2 separate regions of the Homo sapiens genome follow, and region 2 is linked to region 1. The links are contacts of gene promoters, found by promoter capture Hi-C in blood cells and fetal thymus (Javierre and others, 2016). All regions are on one chromosome and are shown on one strand. Each heading gives the region's core, a stretch centred on a gene start or on the middle of the fragment in contact. The rest is flanking DNA. Distances are from core to core; before and after follow the strand shown.

Region 1 (3,499 bases), core at 485-2,984:
TTTATTGTTACCAAGAAAACTACTAAATTAAGAACCTCAAGTTCACCTCCGTTCAACTGTGCAAAACCAACTTTGTCCTTGGAGCCCTTGAAAAAAAATTTTTTTTAAACTGTCAACACAGCAAATGTCACTACAAGAACACTACCCTCAACTTCTAAAACATGAAATTCTAATAAAATACTACGGTTTCTGTTTAGTGCAAAAGATTTCAGCTTCAAGCCACACTATTACAAAACTTGTAAGCATTTTGCAAGAGCCATGTGACACACATATGACAGTCAGCTAAACTGGTGGGTGGACCTTTTAGGGGAAAATGTCTAGCAGTAATTGACCAAACCAGCAAATAAACTCAACTTTTACAACAAATACTGATGTTCCCCCATCCCTCAAAGGCCTTTGACACTGAAAAGGAATACCAATTCGGTCTCTTCCAATTATTCATTACTTTACATGCATGTAAACTGTAGAGGAAATTTTTAAAGGGCCATTGAGGAGAGCCCAACAAACTCTACCCAAGGGAAGTGAACACCAGTTCCCAGGAAAGGTGCCAGGTGTGTCACATCTGCTGTGGTGACTTCTTGAGTAAGCAAGAAAAAGAAATGCATTAACTTTTCATGACACGTCATGGAACCTCATTCCCTATCTGCAAGCATCCAAGCAGGTAATCCAAAACCTACATACAGATCTATCATAGGTCCCGTTCGTTTCTCTTTCAACTTGACAGCAAGCTTCCTTTAATCTGCGAGTATCAAAAAGACATTTCTTGGCTTTAGTTTTTTTTTTTTCCCTTGACCCACAGAAGACAAAATGACTTAGGTGTCCTCTTTAAAAAAAAAAAAAACAAAATTCTCACAAATGCCCAGGTTTTTATAGGAGGGCAATGGACCCGGCGAGCTCTTAAACAACTCCTCCAAGACACAACTCAAAAAGAGAACTAATAAATGTTCAGTTGCTTCTCACCATCTACTCATTCCCCTCAATCCCACGCAGTCCCGAAAAGCATCCATATTACCTGAAACCTGGCGGGGAGGATGGAAGGAGAGAGAGCCAACAAGCTCAGGATTTACAAGTAAAGCTGGTTTCTACCCCGAAGATCCTGACAGCTCCGCAGAGTGCGGGCGCAGGGTCTGACAGTGCCCTCTAGAAGGGCTCTCCCACCCCATCCCCTCCCCTTAGAGACAAGTCCTCCTTCAAAAGTCACTGCCTCCGAGAGAAGATACCCCTTCACACCGCCCCAGGCCCCTCGGCAGGCTTCCTCAGCACCCGCCCCGCAGTCAGGCCCTCTAACCTGACCCGGTCCAGGCCCGGGCGGCTCACCCCTCCGGCCCGACCCCTCCCCCGCGCGGCCGCCCCTCCGCGTCAGACAATGGGGCCCGACTCCCGGCCGCCAGCCTCTCCTGACCCATCACCCTCGCCTCACCCCAGCCGATGCCCCGACTTCTGCCCCAACCCTCCTCGACCCCTTTAAGATCCCCCAAGCTGGCCCACGGACCCAGCCGACCGGTGCTCTCCTGAACTCACTATTCGGGATTCATGCTGGACATGTCACTGCAGCTGCCGCCGCCGCCACCGCCGCCCTTGCTGCCGCAGCCGCCGCCCTGACTCTCCGCGCCACGGGTAATCGAAAGAAAGGAATGAGATAGGCTGTTCCGGGAGAGCAAACGTCTTCCCCTACTCCGTCCCCTAGAACACAATCAGCAGCCGCCGCCACTCAGCTATCGCTTCCACCCAAAATGGCCGCCGGCGAACCAGGAAATAGGGAAGCCTTAGACCGAGGGGCCTTTACACGGCCCAGAGGGCGGCCGCACCGCCTGGCATGCCGGGAAAGGGAGTCGCGAGCGCGGCTACGCGAGCTGAGGACAGACAGTGCGACGCAAGGCCAGGACTCAGCTTCCCGCCAAGCGCCGCGCCTCTGGGGCATGCGTACCTGAAGGGTTGTCGCCCGCCCCATTCCCCACTCCCTCACCTCCCCACCCTCGGCCCCTCCCTGCTCCCCTCCCCTCTGACTCGCTGGCTAGGACTTCGCTCGGACTCCCCCTGGCGGATTGGCTAAGGCCGAGCTGCCCTAGTGATGTCATCAGTGAGACGTGGCAGCCGGGCGAGTCAGCGCCCCACGGGGGAGGGGGCGGAGAGGGGCGGAGGGTGGTGCCGGCGGCCGACGGAGGCTGGGGGTCGGGGGAGGCAAGGGACCGGGGGGAGTGGTCAAACCGGAGGGACTGCCGGGGGTGCGGGGGCGGGGAGGGGGCCGGGGTACGAGCGTGTCGGCTCCTGCCTCCGTTGCGGCTGTTGCTGACCTGACCAGCTTGAGGCTTGCGCCACCCTGGTGGCGCTGGTTGGGGGCTGGTAGGAGGACGTCCGCTCTAAGAACAGAAGGGAAGTCAAGGGGCTCCCTGGACGGCACGGAGCGGTTCTTCTCGTCACTCACCCATCCCCACCTGGGTTCGGTCATCGTCCATTGTTGGCCCCGCGCACTACCATTTTCTTCTTAGATTTCTTCCCATTCTTACTGTGCCCCGCTCTTAACTCGTCAGCCTGGCTATTGCAGTAGTCTCCAAATGGACTCTACCTCTCTCTCTCCTCTCCGCCCCAGCCCATTTGCACACACAGTCGGATGTATCTTTCTGAGACAGCACCTGCATCGTGACCCCACAACCTTCAATGGCTCCACATCCCATGGATGGGAGGGACACAGCCCAGAGCCAGCCTAAAATCCAATTCCTACCTTCGTCCCGGCCTTCAGGTTGAATTGTAATGTATTATCTTTTAGTTGCTACTAACCCTGAGCCATTCTGCAAGACTGGAAAATAATAAGCAATAAAAATAGGCAATTCATCACTATATAGTGCCTACAATTTCTGGGAGTAATATTAACTCATTTTTAAAAAACCTATGGCCTTAACAGCTCTCTTTAATCAGCTCAGGAATTTAAATCTCCGCTAAACTTTAACACATTATCTTGAGTTATTTAATTACAAAGGGCATAGTGTAATACATTGTCCAAAGTTTATCTTCCAACTTCTAAGAACTAAGAAAATTGTCTCCTGAGACTTACTGCAGAATCACTTTAAATTCCTACAACGCCAAAATATAGAAAGAAGGCACTTATTTCTACCCATACACTAATTACACCCCTTAGCCCTCAAATTCTGCCATGGGCCTTAGTTGATGAACTTATCAAAAGTTACCCGAGTTTGGTTTCTGAAATGAACATGTTGGTTTCTGAAATGAACACGGTCACCACCCCAGGAATACCCTGAATGGTTCAGTAATAGGCACCAAAAAGTGTTCGTTACCCTGGACTCTAAAGCCCATTAAAAAAAAAAAAAGCTTATTTTGATTTCAAATAAAAACTCAGAAAACTGGCCAGGCTCGGTGGCTCATGCCTGTAATCTCAGGAATTTGAGAGGCCAAAACGGACAGATCACGAGGTCAGGAATTCAAGACCAGCCTGGCCAACATGGTGAAACACTGTCTCTACTAAAAATACAAAAATTAGCCA
Region 2 (3,499 bases), core at 93-2,592, 1.3 Mb before region 1:
ACCCTGCTGGGTTTAGTTTTGCCTCCCTGAAATCAGGTTAGTAGTACCGTCGCTTTCCTGGATAGTGGCTGTAAGTGATAAAACAGGATTTTTGGCTGCTAATTAATCCTTGTTCTCTTTTCCTGGTCTGTGTCAAGGTACCTGTGCGTGCACGCAGACGGGAAGGGCTGGGGAAGCGGGAGGACTGAGAAAAGCCGGGTGGGTTTTGCCGGGACTGTTGGGGAAGCTTTAGTGTTCTCCGCTTCTACTTCGTTTGTGTGTACGTGGTTTGCGTCTCAGATTCACTTATTGCGAAACTGGGAGTAGCCCGAAGAAGCTGGAGGTCATTTCAGCTGGAGAAATGACTTTGCTGCATTGCTGTGTTTATTTTTTCCTTTTTTGAACTATGAAAAGATGATTAAGGTTCCTTTGAAGTTTGAAAACTGCTCTCTAAATTCCACATGTGTATTTAAAAAGGGTTAGGGAATGCCTCAACTGAGATTATCAGTAACGTGTATATGAATGCATGTGTGTACGGTGTACTCACTGAAATTGGTGCTGGCATAAACCTTTGACACCAGTTTGTAGCATGAGATTTGCCTTCTGGTATGCAAGTAAACTCTTTCCTTGTAGACTCCAGTGTGTGAAAGCTTCAGCCATCTTGATGAACACACAGCTAGTAAAGTTCACAAACACTTATTATGCTTCCTGATAAATGTAGGTGTACTTTTGGAAAAAAAAAGTTGTGTCAGTAATGGCCATCATTTGACCCTGGGAATAAAAATGCCCTACTGAGTTCTACATCGCTTTATTAACTCTTCTTTAAATTTTGTGTAGTAGATTAAAGTAAGAGAATTCGACTGCCTGTGTTATTATCGAAACAGATCGAACGCTATGCTTGCCTTTAGCGCTAAGCTCAGAAATGTCACTTGTTATTAGACTTTCAAATTCATGTTATACCTTATATGTGGTAAGAGATGCTTATGTTCTGATTGAGTAAATGTCTTATTCAAGAATAGAAAGGCAGAACTGTTAGAAACGTACTGGTTTTGTAATAACAATATTCAGTTACCATAAAGGCGGTATTTTGCAAGAATATGCTAGGTAAAAGTGGACAAGTTACTTCTCTTTAAAAGTTAGAAATATTAATAAACCCAAGGTGTTCCATGTAGAGTTATGCTTTAGAATAGGTTGCAGAATTGGCAAGCATTGACTGATTTCACAGCCTTTGCTGTAATGCCAACTTGTCCTCAGAAGATTCAAAATCAAGTGGTAAGAGTTGCTGTGTATGTTTGTCATTACTTTGTCATCCACTTTTTTTAAAAAAACTTTTTATATTTTGGAATACTTCAGGATTTATAGAAAAGTTGCACATTTGTCAAAACTAAGAAATTAACATAGGTACATTACTGTTAACTAAAGGCTTTGTTCAGATTACAGTTCCCATGATTCACTCTAAGATACCAGATTGCACTTAGTTGCCAGCCACTTTTTTTCTTTTTTCTTTTTCTTTCTTCTTTTTTTGTCAAGGTCTTACTGTGTTGTCCACGCTGGAGTACAGTGGGTATTCACAGGAACAATCATAGTGCACTACAGCCTCAAGCCCCTGGGCTCAAGCTGTCCTCCTGCGTTAGCCTCCTGAGTAGATGGGACTTAGGCATATGCCATAGCCTATAGTTGTCATACATTTTTACTTTAAATGGTAGTTTTCCTTTTAAGATGGGCAGTTTTGCACAAGAATATGACACCTCCTCAAAATTTTTTGACATGAATGTGCTCCTGTTTATCATTGTTTAAATTTTGTACAGTGTGAGCCCTCTATATGTTTAACTCTGCTGCTGTTGTAAATGATAAACCTAATTGGCAAATGACACAGCTGTCTCCACAAAAGAGCTTTCAAGTGTAAGGGTTGGAAATTTTGGTTTTGATTATTTTTTTAAGCAAATCAAATTCTTTGATCTTTGCTGCAGAAAATATTGATATTTCCAATCACTGGCACTTAGTAGTTCATGCTCCTTCATAGGGGAAAGAGTTAACAAATGTTAGGTTTCTAACTTTTTTTTTTCATGGGTTTTCTCAAGCTTTATAAGAGTCCTGAGATGTAGATTTTTTATCCTGCCCTTACAGGTGAGGAAAGTTAAGTATCTTGTCCAAAGTTCACAGCTTGTATAAAGCACTGATTGATTGATAGATTGATTTTGAGGCAGGGTCTCACTTTGTTGCCAGGCTGGAGTGCAGTGGTGCGATCACAGCTCACTGCAGCCTTGATCTCCTTGGCTTAAGCAATTTTCCCACCTCAGCCCCCTGAGTAGCTGGGACTACAGGTGCACACCACCATGCCTGGCTACTTTTCTCCTTTTTTAAAGAGACAGGCTTTCCCTATGTTTCTCAGGCTGGTCTCAAACTCCTGGTCTTAAGCGATCTTCTAGCCTCAGCCTCCCAGAGTACTGGGATTACAGGTGTGAGCTGCTAGTGCACAGCACTGAAATTCTTACATGAGTGTGTCTAAAACCCTAGTCCTTCCCGACATCTTTTGTTGCTTCTAACATTAACAACTGTGGAAATGGCCTGTTTCTCCAGCTAGACTGTCAGTTCCCATTGGGCAAAGATAATATTATATCCTTGGGAGAAATACAGTGTTTTGTAAGTGGACGATACTCTAAATGAATTTGTCATGGATGACAAATGAGAAGCCCACAGCTTAGCATTTTCCATCTACTATTTAGTAGCTTATCTTACATTTTTGGTTGTAGTTTTTATAACACCTCTTAGATTATATAAATGTTGAGAAAGATGGAAAGGTACAGACTTAGATTTGAATACCGTTACTAGCAGGTGATCTTAGGCACATACCTTTCAAACCTCAGTTTCTTCTTAGATAAAAATTGGGCAGTAATGCTTATGCCTCAGGGTTATTGAGAGGCTGAAATGAGATGAACTATGTGGATGTGCTAGGCACATATTAGGTAGCCAGTCAATTTTACTTTTCTTTCCTGAAATGATGGTGGCCTTTCAGATAGCATTGCCACCCAAAATATAACCACATGTCATCAACAGAACTAAAAGAAAAAAGGCAGGTATGAAAGTTCTTTATTTTCCTATTCCAGGTTTCATGTTCAGGCCTAGGTGTTATTATGTTAAAAAAAAAAAAAAAAAGTGCCGGGGTGGGGCAAGGTAACGTTTGGACAATATGAATTTGGTTGTAGTTTTTATAACCTCTCAACTTGAGTACAAGTTGGTGACGGTTTTCTTCTGAATACAGTGAACAAAATTTTTTTTGAGCTCTTACTATGTATGATGTACTGTATTAGGATTTCTGGCATATCCCTTATGGTAGGCACTGAAGTTCAGCAGATCTGGGCATTACACCTAAGTGTTGTGTACACCTGTTTTGAATGTAGTAGGATGGTTGCTATACTTGGCTTGTATCTCCTTCTCCAAATCCTAGGCATTGTGCCTTAGAGGAAAGCTGGGTATCTCCATCCTCAAGCATATTGACCGTAAACTATTAGGTGGAAAT

The links. Contacts are between HindIII fragments. The CHiCAGO score rates a contact against its expected background, and 5 or more counts as called.
Region 2: a fragment that was not itself captured here is called in contact with the fragment with the promoter of RAB1A in region 1 in 1 of 17 cell types (fetal thymus); the score reaches 6.5 in fetal thymus.

What each region holds. Positions count from the first base shown.
Region 1 is chr2:65,128,372-65,131,870 of GRCh38, forward strand. It overlaps RAB1A (RAB1A, member RAS oncogene family), which reads right to left and starts at 1,735. Exons shown (of 6, transcript NM_004161.5): 1 at 1,522-1,735. The coding sequence starts at 1,544. RefSeq lists enhancers at 1,003-1,517, 1,514-1,773, 1,518-2,031 and silencers at 1,334-1,383, 1,884-2,233. The HindIII fragment of the contact is 2,599 bases long and covers 727-3,325 here.
Region 2 is chr2:63,842,402-63,845,900 of GRCh38, forward strand. All of the region lies in intron 1 of UGP2 (UDP-glucose pyrophosphorylase 2), which reads left to right. Among named protein-coding and RNA genes, the nearest start is that of UGP2, 2.3 kb to the left of the region's middle. The HindIII fragment of the contact is 1,431 bases long and covers 628-2,058 here.